7 separate regions of the Homo sapiens genome follow, and regions 1, 2, 3, 4, 5 and 7 are each linked to region 6. The links are contacts of gene promoters, found by promoter capture Hi-C in blood cells and fetal thymus (Javierre and others, 2016). All regions are on one chromosome and are shown on one strand. Each heading gives the region's core, a stretch centred on a gene start or on the middle of the fragment in contact. The rest is flanking DNA. Distances are from core to core; before and after follow the strand shown. Region 1 overlaps ORC4 (origin recognition complex subunit 4). Region 2 has its middle 5.9 kb from the start of ACVR2A. Region 3 overlaps ACVR2A (activin A receptor type 2A). Region 4 overlaps ORC4 (origin recognition complex subunit 4). Region 5 has its middle 29 kb from the start of MMADHC-DT. Region 6 holds the start of EPC2 (enhancer of polycomb 2). Region 7 overlaps ORC4 (origin recognition complex subunit 4).

Region 1 (2,700 bases), core at 189-2,688, 670 kb before region 6:
ACCAATATATACCTATTAGAATGGTTAAAATAAAAAGTTTCTTAAATTTAAAAATTTAAAAATTTGAAATTTAAAAACATTTCACATAGCCCTCTTGTGAAAACTACCCAAAATAACAGTGAATTCAAATGCAAAGAAAAACCATAATAAAAAACTCAAGAATGAAGAAATAGTGATTATAGAAGCTGAGTATGAGGACTAAAACAAATTAAACATAGATTTGAAACTAAAAAATTACTGCAAATATGATTATATATAAATGTGACAATTTGTGAAATATTGAAAGAAATTACCTAGATCTAAATTCTCAATTTATATTAAACAATACTTCAGATGTGATAACAGTAAAATCCTAACGTACTCATCTTAATAATGTAATTTCAATATACATTGCTTAAATGTTAAAAAAAATTTTGCTTCTCATCCATTTTTTTAAAGTACATTGGTCAAAAATTGAAATTTATTGTATATAATACATGAGAACAGATTTTACACAGACTACTTAGCATTGAAATTAATTGCTTTCAAAAGTTAACACCCATAATTTGTCTCCTATATTGCATAAAGGATATCAAAGAAAAGAGTAAAGGGAAATAAGTAAGAATATCTTTTTGAGGTAACTAAGCAAATATGATAAAGAGCAAAAGGAGACAAGAATGATATAAGATGTGAGCATGCACTGAAAAACTGTGTAAGTTAGGGTTAAACAAATAGTAATGATGTAGGAAAAATAAAAAGAATGCATGATATGATAGTTCCCTAACCTATAACAAAGGGAAAAACCCTACCGTGCAGTGTTGATGTAAAGAATAAATGAGAGAACACAATAAAAAGACACATAGTACATGCTCAATACATGCTATTTTCTTTTTCCACTGGAAATCTCTACTTCTTTAAGGACAAAAGACCATGTTGGAACAAACATCAATTGACAATTTTTCACTAGGAGGACAAATAAGGGGGAAAAAGGTCTGCTACACTCAAATATACCACCCTAAGTTTATAAAGTTTTACATGTCTTCTGTGATTAAAAAAGAAAAAAACAAAAAAGTAAAACATTACAAAATAATGAAAAGTATTTTCAGTATTACATAAAATAAGATTTATATATGAATTTATTTATTCTTATATAAAATAAGAATCATCACATGCCAACAAACACCAGAAATCAACAGCTTTTACCATAGTTTTTCCTGATCCTCGGGGTCCGATAATAAGGACAGAGTTACTCTCTCCATGGAGAGCAGTTCTTTTCAGCAGCTCACTTAAGTGTCTAAAATGATATAAATAGGACAAAATTTTAAAAATGAAGCTGGAATACTTTGTTATGTTGTAGTTTTTAAAAGGCATATTTGAATATGCACAGAAATTTCCTCTCTTCTCTCCCTCTGGGTACTTGGCCTAGCTTCTGAATGGTCCTAAATAGAAAAATACAAAAGAAATAGTAGGGCAGTATTGATTCTCTGAAATCTTCAGGTGAAAACGTAGTCAGATTGGAATATATTGATTTATACGATAGTAGGGGACAAGGGACAATAGTGGCAACTCTCGGGACCCTTGGATTCAAATCTCTTTTCCTACTAATACTCTGGACTTTTACTCCATAGCTGGCTGCTGGGTATTAAGGGCAAGATGGCTAGAATTCTCTCCACAGTATCAGATAACAGAAACAAAACAAAATTGAAAGTTAAAGTGCTATTGCATTATGGAAATATTTGTATCTGCTCCTGCTTCATGCTATGTGGTGTTTCTATTCACAAAGCAAAATTTTTTATTTCTATAAAAGTGTTTGTTAGCTTTATTTAATATCAAATTTGTACAATAATTTTTGCAAAACCTGGAAGGCATCTGTAAGTAGGTCCATAACAGTCAAGAGGACAGCTAGACTTACTTGTATTGTACTTGCACTCCAAATAGGTTACTATGTGGACTCTGACGACAAAATCTTTCACGTAAAATTCTTTGTACCTGATGAAAATAAAGTGAATAAATATAAATAAAAATATTACACATGATATAAAAAATAAATAAGAAAGCACATTTACAATAGTCAGAATTAGGTATTAATGAATCAATTCAACCCTCCCTAAATTCTTATCCTCTAGAGTTCTGGCACCATTTTCATATGTTAAAAAATTAATGGATTTCTTACCTATCTCAAGTCCCATAGGAAGAATGAGAATTTAGTTGTGAAGGTTTCAACAAGAGGGAGAATCACTGACTTTAGCTATATTAGCAACTTAAGGGCCATTGTAATGCATGTGAACGAGTTAAGAAAAGAATTCTTGTAAGCAGCTATATTTTGAGGTCATCTTAGAACTAAGGCCTTAGACTTAGTCATGAAAAATTATGTCAGATAATCTACCATACTCTTTAAAAAGATGGACCATTAAAGTCGTTCCTTTTTTGGATCTGCAGCTAATACAGAGGTCTTTCAAGGACAACAACCTGAGGGTGCTATCTCAGATTTGGCCCCATGAACTGGAATAAAAAGGCTCCAAGAATATTTGCTTCTCCTAGACTGACAGCATGGAACTAATCCTTCATGTACCAAAGAAGTAAATCTGAGTTCTTGTTCCATGTACAGAGGCAAAGCAAAGAAAATGATTCATTAGGGACAAAACAATACATACTTGTTCATTATCGAGGAAGTTAAAGAGTAAGGACATTGGCTCCAGAAGAGTCTATTATATGAATTTT
Region 2 (2,700 bases), core at 15-2,514, 810 kb before region 6:
TCTCCAGTCTCACTTAGGACTCTTTCATACCTTTTCATCATGCCCCTTTCACTTTAAGGTGAAAACCTTGCTTTACATGTCAGAGAAAAGAAGAGCCCTCAGCTGGGATTGCCATTATGCTCCAATGTTCGGTTCTGTAAACTCATCTGCTTCTGCAAACTCATCTGCTTCTGCTTGCCCTTCCTGCCTCAAAAGGAGGAGGAGGAGGAAGAAGAGGAAGAGGAAGAGAACAACCACTCTCTTCTCAAAGGCCAACCTAACTCTCTCATGTTCTGAAGCTTGTCCTTTCTTGCCTTCACAAGTATTTTGCCCATTCAGTTTTCCTTTCTTCTGCATTTTCAATCTTTCCTCCTATGGCACCATACCTATGAGTTTACATATATAATTTATGATGTCTCCTCTGAAAAGAGAAACAAAATAAAATCCTCTCTTGATTGTGCATTTCCCTTTAGCCACCACCCCATTTATTTGATTTTTTTAAATAGCCAAATGTCTTTAAGGCTTTGTTATTTTTGTATTTTGTTTTTATTTATTTATTTTTGAGACTGAGTCTTGCACTATCGTCCAGGCTGGAGTGCAGTGGTGCGATCTCAGGTCACTGCAGCCTCCGCCTCCCAGGTTCAAGCAATTCTTGTGTCTCAGCCTCCTGAGTAGCTGGGACTTCAGGCACGCACTGCCACGCCTGGCTAATTTTTGTATTTTTAGTAGAGACAGGGTTTCGCCATGTTGGCCAGGCTGGTCTTGAACTCCCAACCTCAGGTGATCTGCCCACCTTAGGTTCCCAAAGTGCTGGGATTACAGGCATGAGCCACTGCGCCGGGCCAAGGCTTTGTTATTTTTGATGTTTCTAAATTTTCATTTACCATTGACTTCAAATATTTCCATCTAGCTTCTGCTAAAACTACTTTCAAGGATGTTAATTCCTTCTATGATGCCACATCCAATGGCTTACATTTTTGTTTTTCATTTTGCTGTATGTCTCTATCGGATTCAACACTGACCCTATCTTCCTTTTGTGAAACACGCCCACATGTGACATCCGTCGCCCCTGGTTTTTATTTAATCTCTGCCTGCCACTTCTTTATCCCCTTTCCTGGCTTTTAATCCTCCACTTGATTGCTACATTTATTCTTCTCTCTCTCTCTCCTCCCTATTTAGATACTCTCATTCATTTCTATGGCCTTAAATACCATTTGCATGGTGACAACTCCCAGATTTATATCTGTAGCATTGCATGTTGCTCCAAACTTCAGTCACGTAGATCCACTTGCTTATGTTACACTATCTCCATTTGAGTGTCTCACAGGCATCTTAAATATAACATTTTTAAAACTAAGTATTTTCACTATTCATCTTTCCAATTTCTGCCCTATAATATCTCTTCCCTTTAAATCTTCCCCATATCAATAAATGACATGACCTCTACTCATTTGCTCAAGAAAAAAAGTAGGAGTCATCCAATCCATCAGCATGTCTTCCAGAATATATCTTAAATCTGCCCACTTCCTTCTGTATTAGTTTACAATATTATCGTCTCATGTCTGACTTACTATAATGCCCTTCTAACTAATTTCTCCGCTTGCTTTGGTAACCTCTTGCAACTCGTTCTTCATGTAACAGCCAGAGTGATCTACTAAACATAAGCCAGACCACACAACTCCCTGACTTAAAACCCTCCAATGGATTGCTACTTCACTTTGAATAAAATCCAAGGACCTTACTTTGGTCCATAGGCTGTTGCATGGACTGGAGCCTATTTTCCTCTCTCTCCTTATTCATACTACTCTCCTAATTGCCATGAGAGCCTTCTTTCAGTTTCTTAAATACATCATCTGTACTGTTTCTTCTTCACTAGCTTCTTTCATGGTTATCTCCTTTTCATCTTCCAGGTTTCAGTTGAAATGTCACATCCTTTGTAAGTCCTTCCTGAATCATTTTCTCTAAATAGTTCCCCTCTTCCTATACTATCCCATTGCTCTTTATCTTAGCATTCTGTCTGCTTTTATAAATAATCCTTTCCATTTGGGAATTACTTGTTTACTGGCTGTTTTCCTGTCTTCTTCGTGATACTGTCAGCTCAGTGATGGTGGAGACTATATCCATTTCATTCGACACTTGTACAACCAAAATCTAGCACAAATTCTGTATCTGATAATTACTTGTTGAATAGATGAATGCCACAGAGAGTGTAATGAAAATGACTGACCCTTATGTGGACTTGTATTATAGAAAATTTCAGGACTATAACATCAAAGCTTTATTCGAGATTTTAAGCACTTGTCAAAATGGATGAAGGCCATTTTTTTTTGAGAAAGAATTGTGTATATAGTCTGCTTTCTACTCCAGTAGGAAATCCATTCTTAGATCCTCTATGATGAATTTCCAATCTGTGAGACCTTTGTGAAGTCAAAGTACAATAAAATTGAATTACTAAGAACTTGAGGCCGGGCACAGTGGCTCACACCTATAATCTGAGCACTTTGGGAGGCCGAGGTAGGCAGATCACTTGAGCTCAGGAGTTCAAGACCAGCCTGGGCAATATGGCAAAACGCCGTCTCTACAAAAAAATGGAAAAAAAAAAATTAGCCCGGTATGTTTGGCACACGTCTGTAGTCCCAGTTACTCAGGAAGCTAAAGTGGGAGGATCACCAGAGCCTGGGAAGTCAAGACTGCAGTGAGTGGTAATTGCATCACTGCACA
Region 3 (2,700 bases), core at 171-2,670, 710 kb before region 6:
GCAGACCATTCAGAACTGTCACGTGTGTCCCCATGGTCTCATTCATTGTATTCCTAGCAATTCCCTTTTCAATGTTGAGTTCACCTCTTTATTTCACAAAGTACTTGGTCTCTCAATTTCTTGATCTGGTTTTGCTTCCATTTAAAAACTAATCAAGAAGGGAAAATATTGAGAATGTGCATACAAGAAAATCATTAATTTCCTGAAGATGAATTTCTACCTGTTGTGAACATTTAACTTTCTTTTTAAAAGTTAAACAAAAATAAACAAGGGATATTATGATGAATGTTTGGCTTATGTGAGTACTAGAGATAAAATTTTTAAACCCAGTTATTCACAATATAAAATGTTTTCAAGTTAGAAAAAATTTTTAGAAATCCTGGGTATTGTATTTAACTGTAGCTAACCAATTTTAAAACTTGTATTCTTTTGAGAACTATTATTAATAGAAAAACTTTTTATAAGCAGTAAAATAAGAATGTTCCAGTGACTACCTGTCCTTATACCTAGTCTTGTTAAAACTTTCTTTTGCAGGGTATTTAGTGTTTGGTTTACAGTCAGTGCAGAGTGGGCAAGTTAACAGAAAGTTTGAGCTAGAGATACTGGAAAAAAAAAAGATCAAAGAATGAGAAAAATGGTGATCCATTTTGGGGCAAACTGAGACCCCCCAAATAACTCTTTCCTCATGTGTATGGTGCTCCTCATGACTCGTCTTGTATTTTGCCTTTCTGATACCCATCAGAACTGCTGCTGCTCTAACTTATACTCTTTACCTTGCCCAGATCTCCGCGTAAGGAATGCTTTATGATCAACTTGCCATAGGACTGATGGATTAACCAGTGTTCGGCTTTATTTGAAGTCTATGCCCTGCACAGCTCTTGTATGTATTTTAGATGCTAGAAGTTTTTTTAGCATGTGATGTGTGATTCTTGTTTGAATTCTAGGTACCTTGTGAATTCCAGAAAAAGAGACTGTGCTTCACGATTGTTAGTCCCATGAACTTGCACTATCTATCTTTCATGGTGATGTTTTGAAAATACAATCAGGAAAAAACCCAACACCTTTGGAATTTAAAATAGAATCATATCATGAAATTTAAAAAGAATCTCTTCTGTTGCATTTCCTCACCCCTAAGTAACAGCTACATTTAAGTAAAATGCAGGTGGTAGGGGAAAAAAAACCATGGCGAGATGGTGGTTTAGTGGAATAAACTGATTACTGGTTTTTTTGTTTTTTTTTTTTTTTTTAAAGAAAGAAGCTTCATCACAGATACTTTCCAGTTTCTCTTTTATACTTTTTTGAAAGATTACTTTTTAGGAACATTTGGTATGATATGCATAAAATTATTTATCCATTTATGGGCAAAATGATACAAGTAGCATCTTGATTGAACATCATTTACCTCAGATATTCAACCAGCAGTACGTTTTTTATGCAGTCTCAACCCATATCCCATTTGTTACCTCTCAGAATATTGGTAAGCAGTTATTTTCGCTTTACTCTGTATTTCTTGTGTTTTGGGCACAGGTTATTGTACTACTGTCAAATCGTACTTGCTATTTTTTCTGCAAGTATTTAACAGAAAGCTTAAAATCCCCATAAAACCCCACCTTGGATAAGTGATTGTTAAATATTGTACAAATAAAATGTATGCTATCCCCATTCCATCCCCAAGTTAAATAAAAAAATGAATACGGTATGATTTGCATATGCAGTTTTTCTTTAGCTATGTTTTTTTTTTTTTTTATACTTTAAGTTTTAGGGTACATGTGCACATTGTGCAGGTTAGTTACATAGGTATACATGTGCCATGCTGGTGCGCTGCACCCACTAACTCGTCATCTAGCATTAGGTATATCTCCTAATGCTATCCCTCCCCCATCCCCCCACCCCACAACAGTCCCCAGAGTGTGATATTCCCCTTCCTGTGTCCATGTGATCTCATTGTTCAATTCCCACCTATGAGTGAGAATATGCGGTGTTTGGTTTTTTGTTCTTGTGATAGTTTACTGAGAATGATGATTTCCAATTTCATCCATGTCCCTACAAAGGACATGAACTCATCATTTTTTATGGCTGCATAGTATTCCATGGTGTATATGTGCCACGTTTTCTTAATCCAGTCTATCATTGTTGGACATTTGGGTTGGTTCCAAGTCTTTGCTATTGTGAATAATGCCACAATAAACATACGTGTGCATGTGTCTTTATAGCAGCATGATTTATAGTCCTTTGGGTATATACCCAGTAATGGGATGGCTGGGTCAAATGGTGTTTCCAGTTCTAGATCCCTGAGGAATCGCCACACTGACTTCCACAATGGTTGAACTAGTTTACAGTCCCACCAACAGTGTGAAAGTGTTCCTATTTCTCCACATCCTCTCCAGCACCTGTTGTTTCCTGACTTTTTAATGATTGCCATTCTAACTGGATAAAATACTGGCAAAACGAATCCAGCAGCACATCAAAAAGCTTATCCACCATGATCAAGTGGGCTTCATCCCTGGGATGCAAGGCTGGTTCAATATACGCAAATCAATGAATGTAATCCAGCATATAAACAGAGCCAAAGACAAAAAACACATGATTATCTCAATAGATGCAGAAAAAGCCTTTGACAAAATTCAACAACCCTTCATGCTAAAAACTCTCAATAAATTAGGGATTGATGGGGTGTATTTCAAAATAATAAGAGCTATC
Region 4 (2,700 bases), core at 108-2,607, 650 kb before region 6:
CACTAAAATTGGTGGGTGAGAAGGCACATGTAGACAAATTTTCCTTGAAAAGCCCCAAACTACACATAAATTACAGAACTGTACTTTCTTGCAATATCAATTACTTCAGGGTATATGTTCATTTGAGAAGAATAATGAATAGAATACTGTCCACTATTCAAATAAATTTTTCCTTTGCCACGTTTACAGACTTGAGTTTACTTAAATGTAAGTATGATACTGCTAGGGCTAAGGAAATGATACTCCAAAATAAAGTCCTCCAAAGCAGCTCTCTCTGACCATCTCCTAACTTCCTGTCTCTGGCCTCTCATTCTCCTGAGGCTAGCCACTGAAACTACCATCCCTCGTCCCCAAGGTAGTCCACAGAAACCAGAACTCCCTTTCCCCAAAGCCAGCCACAGAACCTAAATATATTACTCTAATGTTCCCTGCCCTCATCTTTCTGTGTAAAAACTAACTATAAAGACATATCTGACCTATTCTGTTTGATTGTAGGTCATAGGATCCCCATTCCAGAAAGGGTGCTGTTCCATACCCGGAAGGAAAGAATGCTGCACAGAGAGGCCAAGAAGAATCTATACAGACAGGCAGGCCTTGCTGGGTTTCCCCACTCAGTATATGGCTGTCCAGACTTTGCTGAACCTAAGCATACCAATGGGCAGTTTTCTCCTATATCTTTAGGTCTTTATTCTGAAGGCTCCCATGTCACGTAACACCAAGATCAAATAAAATCATATGCCCTTTCTCCTATTAATCTGCCTTTTTTCAGCTGATTTTCAAAGAACCTTCAGAGGCTGAAAGGGAAGTTTTTTCTTGGCCCCTACAATATGCTACAACTCCAGTAAGTTAATTAGTAAATATTAAACTATTTTTGGAAGGAAAAAAAACTGAAAATAACATTGCTTTAGAGATAAATTATTTAAGAATTGCTAGAAATTACCCTAGAAATTATCCTAGAAAAATCTTAAAATTTTCCCTAAAAACTTTTAGGAATAATACATTGTTTCTAATGAGACCCTTCAGCTTATGCAAAAAGCACAGGAGACTAAATTCTAGAGTCAACGAAACGATATTCTCCAATTCTGTTTTGCTAATGAATATGTTGTCCATCCCCCCATCAGCATGCTTAGGTAATCTTGCAAGGATAAATGGAAATGTCAGTTGACATTTACAATGAAATAGGATTTTTAGACAGTTGTGCTTTTTGGGTGGGAAAAGGAGAGCTAAAAATTAGGGGGTTGGGGGCTTAAAAAAGACAGCATTATATGGCTTAGAACTTTGGTACCCTACCTTCATCCTTTTCTGCAATCCCTTTTACTCCCCAAAGTTAAAAGGCTATCAATGGGACAATAATTGATGATCAACTATGAAGAAATAGGCTCAAATACACTGTTTTATTATATTTTTATCATTCTTTATATACCTTTTCTCATCATTCTTTGTCCCAATAGTATGCTATGATTATGCACGTAGAAAATCCCAAAATAACAACAAAATCACTGGAACTAATAAACTACTGTAGAAAGGTTGCAGGATACAAGGTTAATATACAAATTGTCAACTTCCTTCCTATGTATCAGTAATGAACAACTGAAATTAGAAATTAAAATAATACCATATACATTAGCAACAACAACAAAAAACATTCACCAAAAATGTAGATATAAATCTAACAAAATATGTACAAGATCTCTATGAGGATCACTATAAAACTCTGATTCAAGAAATCAAAGAAAGTCTAAATAAATGAGATCATTCAAGAGTAGAAAAAAATTCGTATTGTTAAATGTCAGTTCTTCCAACCTTGATCTATAAATTCAATGCAATCCCAATCAAAATTCTGGATAGTTATTTTGTGGATATGACAAACTGATTTTAAAGTATACACAGAAAGACCCAGGAGAACCAACACGATACCGAAGGAGAACAAAGTTGGAGGACAAAACCTACCCAACTTCAAGACATTATAAAACTATACTAATCAATACAGTGTGATAATGGTGAAAGAACAGACAAATCAAGGGAACAAAACAGAGCCCAGAAATAGGCCCACATAAACATAGTCAGCTGGTCTTTTACGAATAAGCAAAGGCAATTCAATGGAGAAAAGAACAATCTTTGCAACAAATGGTAATGGAAAAACTAGACATACACATGCCAAAACATGAATTGACACAGACCTTACAAGTTTCACACACAAAAAATCTAAAAATGGATCACAGACCTAAATATAAAATGCAAAACTATAAAACTCCAAAAATGGCCGAGCACAGTGGCTCACGCCTCTAATCCCAGCACTCTGGGACACCAAGGCAGGTGGATCACCTGAGGTCAGGAGTTCGAAACCAGCCCGACCAACATGGTGAAACCCTGTCTCTACTAAAAATACAAAAATTAGCTGGGCATTGTGGCAGGCTCCTGTAATCCCAGCTACTTGGTGACAGGTGAAGCCAGCTGGACTTCCTGGGTCGAGTGGGGACTTGGACAACTTTTCTGTCTAGCTAGAGGACTGTAAATGCACCAATCAGCACTCAATAAAAAAACGCACCACTCAGCGCTCTGTGGATTAAAGGATTGTAAATGCACCAATCAGCACTCTATAAAAACGCACCAATCAGCGCTCTGTGTCTAAAGGACTGTAAATGCACCAATCAGCACTCTGTAAAAATGCACCACTCAGCATTCTGTGTCTAGCTAAAG
Region 5 (2,700 bases), core at 125-2,624, 910 kb after region 6:
ATGGTATTACTTTTCCAAAGTTGTGGTGAGATTAAATACTAAAGTGTTCTGCCAAATACATGTCCTCTTGAAGATGTTTGTATTATAATTTTAGGAAAATATATTTGGGGGTAATTTTTACTGTTTAGTTGTCCACAAAATTTGTACACATTCAGAGGTCAGATAATAAGAACAGCTAAAATTTACTGACCTCTTCCACAGGAATAGTAAGAAATGGCTTGCATATGTCATCCCTCCTAAACCTTAAATCTTCTCATGAGATGGGTATTAACAGAAGTGGAACTTGCCCAAGGTCAGAAAACTTGTAAATAGCACAACTGAGATCCAGACTCAGGAGTTTTTTTCCAAACCCCAGTCTCTTAACCACGATGCTGTACAGTCCTTTGATTTTGGATGAGTATCTGGATAACTGAACTAGTCATGATATTTCATGCATGTTGTAATGTTGAGAAATTTCAGAATCCTAAAACAGTTGTTAAAGGTTGGAACATAAGAATGAGCATGAAAATATTATAAGCGACTTGATTTCCTAGAACCAAATGGAAATTAAAATAGTACATGATCACGTAGCAAATTATTAGCATACATCAGAGAACAAAAGATAAGCAGAGCATAACTGCTGAGAGGTATGATGACAAAGCCTGTCAAAACTCTTTCCAATGGGTCTGAAAATCTTTATTGTTTTGATCCCACCCCTACCACACCCTCTCTCCTGAGCTGTGGAAGATCGGTGGGTTAAATTCTATCATCAAATGCAATAATGGAGTTTCAAATATTCAAGTTGAGTGAGGTATGCTTGTCATTCAACTTTACATCCTCTATCCTGACTACTCTCTGAATTCTAGGTTCCCAACTCTAAGTATATGCAGATATTCACCACCATTTTAACTTTACCACATAAATGTAAGAGGGCTATATGCTGCAAACTAGTACTTGGTAGTGAGACCACCAGGCTAGGCATTAGGGTCCAAGGCCCAATTGCTTGTGTTCCAGTCCTGGCTCTGCCATTCAATATCCATGCGACTTTAAACTCATCACCTGGCCTCTCTCTGCTTCAGGTTTCTGATCCATGAAATGGGAATAATAATACTTATTTCATGGGGTTGTTATGAAGATTATATGCATTATGTATAAAGCACTTAGCTAAGTGCTGGGCACAGTAAGCACGATGAAAATGTTGGCTTGTTACTATTATTACCAGTGCTATTATTATTATTATTCTTTTAGTCATCCATGTTGAAAACTGCAGTCTTTTGTTTGGATTGCTGGAAGTGGGATTGGACAGCAAGACCTAGGGAGCAGTCAGTTCCTGCTTTAATTTCTACTTTGGAATATTTATTTCATTCTTACGGCCACCACCCTAATTTAGGCCTCTATTACCTTTGAGTTACCCCATTACAACAGTAGTCTTTTTGTTGCCAGTTACTTTTTGCCTACAGTTTATATCCTATACCACCAGGAGATCTATCTTTCCAAAAGTTGATTTAATCGAATTATTCTTCTGCTTGAAAACCTTCAATGTTTAATGCTATAGCATATCGGTGAATTCCTTATTCTGGAACTAAAAATTCCTTCAATCTAGCCCCAAGGTGTCTTTCTAGCCTCATTTCCCAAGTCCTTGCAGTCAAGGAAACTCTAGGTAAACCAGTCCACTCTCTTGTGTTAGTCTCATGTTTTAGCTCCTGGAATATCCTCTGCTCACTATTCAAATCCCGCCTGCCTTTCAAGGGCCAGCTGAGATTTCCTCTCCTCCAAGAGTCTCTAGACATGCCATAAGCTCTACGACTTGGAGCAGACATGAAGTATGTCAGCATCAAACGTCAAACTTTACTAATTCAGAGTGGACGTATATTGGATATGATTAAGTAAAAAGCAAAGGAAAGGTGTAGAGTTTGAGAAAACCTCTGTGAATCATAAAATTTTAAATGATTTAATTATTTTTATACCGTGTTAGTCCGTTTGGGCTGGTTTGACAGAATACCACAAACTGGGTAATTTATAGTTAGAGGTAAACTTGAACAATTTGGGTTTGAACTGCCCGGGTCCACTCATATTCAGATTTCCTTCTGCCTCTGCCACCCCTGAGACAGCAAGAACAATCCCTCCTCTACCTCCTCCTCCTCAGCCTTCTCAACATGAAGACAATGAGGATGAAGACCTTCATGAGGAGCCCCTTCCACTTAATAAAGAGTAAATATATTTTCTCTTCTTCATGATTTTTTTTTTAACATTTTCTTTTCTCTAGTTTATTTCCCAGCACTTTGGGAGGCCTAGGCGGCGGATCACGAGGTCAGGAGATCGAGACTATCCTGGCTAACATGGTGAAACCCCGTCTCTACTAAAAATACAAAAAGTAGCCGGGCGTGGTGGCAAGTGCCTGTAGTCCGAGCTCCTCAGGAGGCTGAGGCAGGAGAATGGCGTGAACCCAGGAGGCTGAGGCAGGAGAATGGCGTGAACCCAGGAGGCGGAGCTTGCAGTGAGCTGAGATCGCGCCACTGCACTCCAGCCCAAGGAAAAAAAAAATTCAGAATGTAATACATTTAACATACAAAATATGTTAACTACTCATGTTGCCAACAAGGCTTCCAGTCAACAGTAGGCTGTCAGTAGTTCAGTTTCTGGGGAGTCAAAAGTTATATGTGGATTTTTGACTCAGCCTGGGGTTGGGGTGGTCGGCACCCCTAATCCCCCTCTTGAACT
Region 6 (2,700 bases), core at 196-2,695:
AAGAAGGACGTAATAGAGGAAGAGATATAGTTTTATTGTCACATAGAAATGACAGTAGGAATCAATTTTTTCACTGTTGGTCTTTAGGAAATCATCTGACTTTCTCTGAGTTAGAGTATGATCGATTATTAGAAAATGGTAAAATGTGTTAAAAACTCTCTTTGTACGGTTTTGTGAGAAATGTGTAATGCTTAAAGACTAACCAAGAGCCTCTTGGCTAAACCAGGTTGATGTCAACAATAGCTAGTACTTATTTGAGTCACCTTGATTTTCCCTCCTCTTGAGAACTTTCTCTAACCAGTTTAGGCTGCAGTCATGCCTCCTTTCCTTTCTCTGAACTCTCACAATTATTGCCTAGATCTCGTTTGGTAATTAATCATGTGCTACTTACTGCCTGTGTCATCTCTTGTATTGTTTTCTTAAAATATTTACACTTTTTTTTCGGTTGTCACTTATCTTTCCAGCTGTCATTTTCTTCAACTATTTACGTCTCTGTTACTCATCTTTCCAGCCATCCTGGCATCCCATTAAGGTGAAAGCTCTCTGAGGCAGGAACCTTTTCTCAGATTTCTTCGAGTCTTCCACAGCACCCCACATTTGACACACATCTGCTACTTCGCAAATGTGTGCTGCCTTGGCTAAATTTTTAGAAGCTGAACTTTTAGGAAAGCTACTATTTTTGAACTCAGAAAAATACCTACCATCCACTAAACAGCTGTACCGAAGTTTGGGTGACAGGGAACCTAAGTTCACTTGTTGCATCTGGCAGCCTCAAACCATGAACCCTCACTGCAAAGCGAGGATGAACGCGCTGCTGCACCTTGGAGAGCTCTTTCGGACAGGTACGGAGGGGAGGGCGTAGAAGAGGGCTGGCACCAGCAGCGCGGTCCAGTCCTCCGAACGGACTGATGGGACTGATGGGAGAGACCTCTTGCACCTCTCGGGGATGTGCGCCTCGGAGGATGCGAATTAGCTTGCGCACAGGGCGCCTTGGGGATAGCGCTGTCCAAGTACAGGCTTGGGTGATGGCTGGTGGGGTCCGGGTCGACATTTTCCCTTCCCGCTCCCGGACTTCTGCACACACGCGCTGCTCGGCGCAGCCGTCTTTGCCCGGCGCCTTCCTCCGGGACACCCAGCGAGAGGGGTGACCGGGCGGCGGCGGGAGAGGCGCACGCTCCCGGGCGCGGGCGAACTTGCGCACCTGGCACCTGCCACACAGCGAAAGCACCGGCCAGCGAGCGGAGGGGCGCCGCCCCCGCCCCCTCTCCCCGGAGCGGACCGAGACCGAGCACGCTCCCGCGGGCCGGCAGCGCCGCGGAGAGAGTGGGTGGGCAGGCGAGGGAGGGGAAGGGAGAGGAAGGAGGGAGGGAGGGAGAGGGCGAGGCGCGTTCCCGCGACGGGGGCGCGCTCTCGCGCGGGCTGCCGGGATCGCTCGCCGCCGCTGTGGTAATGTCCGCCATGTTGGCCATGGCGCAGGGAGCGGATCGGGCGGGCGAGCGGCGGATCTAGTGTGTGGAGGCGGCCGCGGGCGCGGGGGGCTGTTTTCGGGCGGGGTGGGCGCCCATGCTGTGGCCGGGGGCAGTGAGGAGGAGGAGGAGCGGGCCGGCCGCGCTGCACTGAGGAAGGAGGTGGAGGAGGCGGCGGGAGTCCTCCCCCCCTCCCCGCCCGCCCCGCCGCCGCCGCCCGGGCTGTTCCTGTAAGGCGGGGAGACAATGAGTAAACTCTCCTTCCGAGCGCGGGCGCTGGACGCCGCCAAGCCGCTGCCTATCTACCGCGGCAAGGACATGCCTGATCTCAACGACTGCGTCTCCATCAACCGGGCCGTGCCCCAGATGCCCACCGGGATGGAGAAGGAGGAGGAATCGGTAGGGACTCGAGTGTTTATTACCCCCCCTTCCCTCCTCCCCCCTCCCCTTTGTCAGTCGGGCCTCGCCATTCACAGAGCGCTTTACGCTCGCTGGAGGGCGCCGCTGCCGCTCTAACGCACGGGACTCTACGCCGGCGGAGTAGCGTAAACCCTCTCGGCCGGCGTAGCGCCCGCCCGCGGCCGCCATGTTGTTGCGTCCCAGTGTTGTGATTAGCTCGCAGCGCTGCTTACGCTGCCGTAAGGGGGCCTTGCCGTAAGCGGCGGCCGGGAATGGCGCAGGGGATGCGCTGGCCGCTCTTGGCGTACGGTCTCTGTTTACCTTTCCACCTCCCTCTCTCAGGCGCGGGGCTAATTAATGGCGTGGTATTATTTGGCTAGGCAAGATTATTATTTTTTCCACTTTTAACTTTGGCTTTGTATTGAGTTCTCTTTGAAATGACTGTGGAAGGGTGCTTTCAAAACAAACATCTTCCTCCCAGCAATGTAATCATCCTGGCTCCCCCGCCCGCGAAGGTGCAGCGGGATGAGGCGGTGCAGCACTGCGGCGGGGGAGGGCGGGGGCCACGACTACCGAGCGGGTCGTAGCGTCCGAGGGCCGCCCGCCGGCCAGTTCTGCCGACCCGAGCCGGGCGCGGGGCGGACGGGCTCTGCCTGCTCCGCCTGGACGGCCGTGCTCCGTGCGCAACGTTAGAGAGGAGCCGGGGATGCCCGGAAGCGAGCCGCCGGCGTTGCGTTGTCCTCGAGAATTGTCATTGCGAGGTGGTCCTTAGAAGTTGAGGACCTAGTGCATCTAAATTGGCAGTTGTAATTTTGATAATACAGCACCTTTTGGG
Region 7 (2,700 bases), core at 22-2,521, 690 kb before region 6:
CACCTAAGATAAAATAAGAGCATTACATTAATAAGAAATTATATCCACCTTTCCTAAATTTCCAAACCATTTACTATATTTCAGTTTTTAAAACTCAATTCTGTAAACATTCTGATAGCCTACTTTGGGTAGGGGATTTACTGATGCATATACGTTCATTCAACAGAAAAAAATTATTCAAAGGACAAACACAGCCCCGACTGCTCTCAAGAAGTTCAGTCTAGGCTGGGCGTGGTGGCTCATGCCTGTAATCCCAGCACTTTGGGAGGCTGAGGTGGGTGGATCACCTGAGGTCGGGAGTTCGAGACCAGCCTGACAAACATGGAGAAATCCCATCTCTACTAAAAATACAAAATTAGTCAGGTGTGGTGGCGCATGCCTGTAATCCCAGCTACTCGGGAGGCTGAGGCAGGAGAATTGCTTGAACCCAGGAGGCAGAGGTTGTGGTGAGCCAAGATCGTGCCACTGCACTCCAGCCTGGGCAACGAGAGTGAAACTCCATCTCAAAAAAAAAAAGTTCAGTCTAGGCCGGGCATGGTGACTCACGCTTGTAATCCCAGCACTTTGGGAGGCCGAGGTAGGTGGATCACCTAAGGTCAGGGGTTTGAGACCAGCCTGGCCAACATGGTAAAACCCCATCTCTGCTATTAAAAAAAAAAAAAAAAATTAGCTACTTGGGAGGCTGAGGCAGGAGAATCTCTTGAACTGCGGAGGCAGAGGTTGCAGTGAGCTGAGATCACACCATTGTATTCTAGCCTGGGCAACAAGAGTGAAACTCCATCTCCAAAAAATAAAAAGTGCAGTCTAGTTCCTAGACTCTAGTAGAGTTTGTTGTTGAAAAATGTCAAAAATCATTTAAATGACTAAAGACTATTATTTTTATAATTACGTAAATATAATTCTTATTTAATGATTATAAAATTGACAGAGTTTTCTATACCTACACAGAACCAAAACACTTTAAGATTAAAATATAAGGGGAGTCACTAATTAATGAACAAAACTAATGCTTTAAAAGAGAGTTGTTTATTTAGTAGAAATACAAGGTACATTTCTTGTAGAAATACTTTTTATAAACAAACTTGTAGATTATAAAGTTCAACTAAAGCCACTTAAACTCCCTTGAAGCACAACTTTTAGCATTTCAACTACAATGCTTTTCATGGGGAAAGTTCCACATCACCCTCTGGTTACATTTTTCTCACTTCAATAATGGAAACAACTTTAGTAAAAGAATCCCTTTTACCTTAGGCTTAACGCCTTTATATTTGTGTTAAAAAGTGAAACAAATATCTGATAAAAGAAAGACTTATTTCAACAAATAACAAATACAGTAGCCTAAATGACTTAATACTGGTACAAAACCAAAGGGATTACTCAAAAGTCTAGAAAGAGACTTATGTACTAATATAGAATTTTAGTATTTGATAAAATATTGCATTATACATCAGTGGGGAAAATTAGTCTATTCAAAGTCAGATCCCTACTTTACAGGTAAAATCAGAATAAATTCCAAACAAATTATAAATTACAAATATATATATATATTAAATAAAAAGATGGATCAATGAATGTTTTTATAATCTGAAGGAGAGAAAAAACTTTCTAGATAAACTTAACTATGTGGAAAACATAAAACTTTAGATCAGCAGAAAAGTCCAAACCAAACTTAAGGGAAGAGAAAAATAAAACACAAAAATTCCGATAAATAAGCATAACATAAACATTACCACAATAGGTCAAAGACCCAACAGGAAATACAGTCGTGTGTCCCTTAATGACAGAGATACGTTCTGAGAAATGTATTGTTAGGTGACTGCATCGTTGTACAAGCATCCTAACAGTGTACTTACCCAAGCCTAGATGGTATAGCCTACTAGACACCTAGGCTATATGGCATAGCCTATTGCTCCTAGGCTATGAACCTATGAGCATGTGATAGTGTAGACAACTGTAACACAATGCGAAGTATTTGTGTATCTAAACATATCTAAACACAGGAAAGGTACAGTAAAAATATGGTTTTATAATCTAATAGGACCACTGTCACATATGTGGTCTATCATTGAATTAAAGGTTGTTATGTGGCACATGACTGTACATAAACCAGGAAATTTCAAAGGTCAATAAAAATATGAAATGACAAGCATCACCACTATCAGAATTATGCAAATTAAGTAACCAGAATTATGCAAATTAAAGAACAAAATTATTCAAATTAAACTAAGAGCTGAAAGTTTTTCTATTATATGGGCAAACATAAAAATAATAATTGTTTTTGAGGTTGTGAAGAAAAAGGTATTATCAAATATTTTTACAAATTAAACCTTTAGGGTAGTTTTTAAATGTTAAAGATGGTGCCTTTTAACCCAGAATTCTACCCACAGAAATTTATCCCAGGAAATATCTGGATGATCATCAAAGTATCTCTTCTTAATTATAAAAAATTAGAAACAAAAGCCCATAATTGGTGATTAATAAATAGCACCTTATAAAACAAGAACCATAAAAATGATGATGCAGATCAAAATCTTATTACAAAATAGGTAAAATAATTTTATTGTTGTAAAAAATCACATTTATCTCTATCAATAATATACTGATATAAAGATCAGTATATCATTGAATAAAGATAAGAAACCAAATGCTAATTGAGATAATCACTGTTATAGTGGTGGGAATACAGTGAACATTGTATTC

What was found. The method cuts DNA at HindIII sites, captures the fragments that hold promoters and counts their contacts. A CHiCAGO score of 5 or more calls a contact.
Region 1: a contact is called between a fragment that was not itself captured here and the fragment with the promoter of EPC2 in region 6, in 3 of 17 cell types (erythroblasts, fetal thymus and megakaryocytes). The highest score is 7.7, in erythroblasts.
Region 2: a fragment that was not itself captured here is called in contact with the fragment with the promoter of EPC2 in region 6 in 1 of 17 cell types (fetal thymus); the score reaches 5.1 in fetal thymus.
Region 3: a fragment that was not itself captured here is called in contact with the fragment with the promoter of EPC2 in region 6 in 7 of 17 cell types (erythroblasts, fetal thymus, naive CD8 T cells and 4 more); the score reaches 8.7 in erythroblasts.
Region 4: a fragment that was not itself captured here is called in contact with the fragment with the promoter of EPC2 in region 6 in 6 of 17 cell types (naive CD4 T cells, total CD8 T cells, activated CD4 T cells and 3 more); the score reaches 7.6 in naive CD4 T cells.
Region 5: a contact is called between a fragment that was not itself captured here and the fragment with the promoter of EPC2 in region 6, in 1 of 17 cell types (neutrophils). The highest score is 5.3, in neutrophils.
Region 7: a fragment that was not itself captured here is called in contact with the fragment with the promoter of EPC2 in region 6 in 6 of 17 cell types (fetal thymus, neutrophils, erythroblasts and 3 more); the score reaches 8.5 in fetal thymus.

What each region holds. Positions count from the first base shown.
Region 1 is chr2:147,971,557-147,974,256 of GRCh38, forward strand. It overlaps ORC4 (origin recognition complex subunit 4), which reads right to left. Exons shown (of 14, transcript NM_181741.4): 3 at 1,892-1,968; 4 at 1,183-1,273. Among named protein-coding and RNA genes, the nearest start is that of ORC4, 48 kb to the right of the region's middle. The HindIII fragment of the contact is 4,438 bases long and covers 1-2,700 here.
Region 2 is chr2:147,837,813-147,840,512 of GRCh38, forward strand. No RefSeq gene overlaps it. Among named protein-coding and RNA genes, the nearest start is that of ACVR2A, 5.9 kb to the right of the region's middle. The HindIII fragment of the contact is 1,977 bases long and covers 277-2,253 here.
Region 3 is chr2:147,929,126-147,931,825 of GRCh38, forward strand. ACVR2A (activin A receptor type 2A) reads left to right here. Exons shown (of 11, transcript NM_001616.5): 11 at 1-1,697. ORC4 (origin recognition complex subunit 4) reads right to left here. Exons shown (of 14, transcript NM_181741.4): 14 at 1,271-2,700. Among named protein-coding and RNA genes, the nearest start is that of ACVR2A, 85 kb to the left of the region's middle. The HindIII fragment of the contact is 328 bases long and covers 1,257-1,584 here.
Region 4 is chr2:147,992,482-147,995,181 of GRCh38, forward strand. All of the region lies in intron 1 of ORC4 (origin recognition complex subunit 4), which reads right to left. LOC105373674 (a long non-coding RNA gene) reads left to right here. Exons shown (of 5, transcript XR_007087258.1): 5 at 496-754. Among named protein-coding and RNA genes, the nearest start is that of ORC4, 27 kb to the right of the region's middle. The HindIII fragment of the contact is 3,315 bases long and covers 1-2,700 here.
Region 5 is chr2:149,556,730-149,559,429 of GRCh38, forward strand. No RefSeq gene overlaps it. Among named protein-coding and RNA genes, the nearest start is that of MMADHC-DT, 29 kb to the right of the region's middle. RefSeq lists a silencer at 1-20. The HindIII fragment of the contact is 4,195 bases long and covers 1-2,700 here.
Region 6 is chr2:148,643,306-148,646,005 of GRCh38, forward strand. It overlaps EPC2 (enhancer of polycomb 2), which reads left to right and starts at 1,446. Exons shown (of 14, transcript NM_015630.4): 1 at 1,446-1,865. The coding sequence starts at 1,713. RefSeq lists silencers at 1,100-1,679, 2,440-2,529 and enhancers at 1,519-2,023, 2,620-2,700. The HindIII fragment of the contact is 14,369 bases long and covers 1-2,700 here.
Region 7 is chr2:147,952,522-147,955,221 of GRCh38, forward strand. It overlaps ORC4 (origin recognition complex subunit 4), which reads right to left. Exons shown (of 14, transcript NM_181741.4): 8 at 1-3. Among named protein-coding and RNA genes, the nearest start is that of ORC4, 67 kb to the right of the region's middle. The HindIII fragment of the contact is 2,948 bases long and covers 1-2,700 here.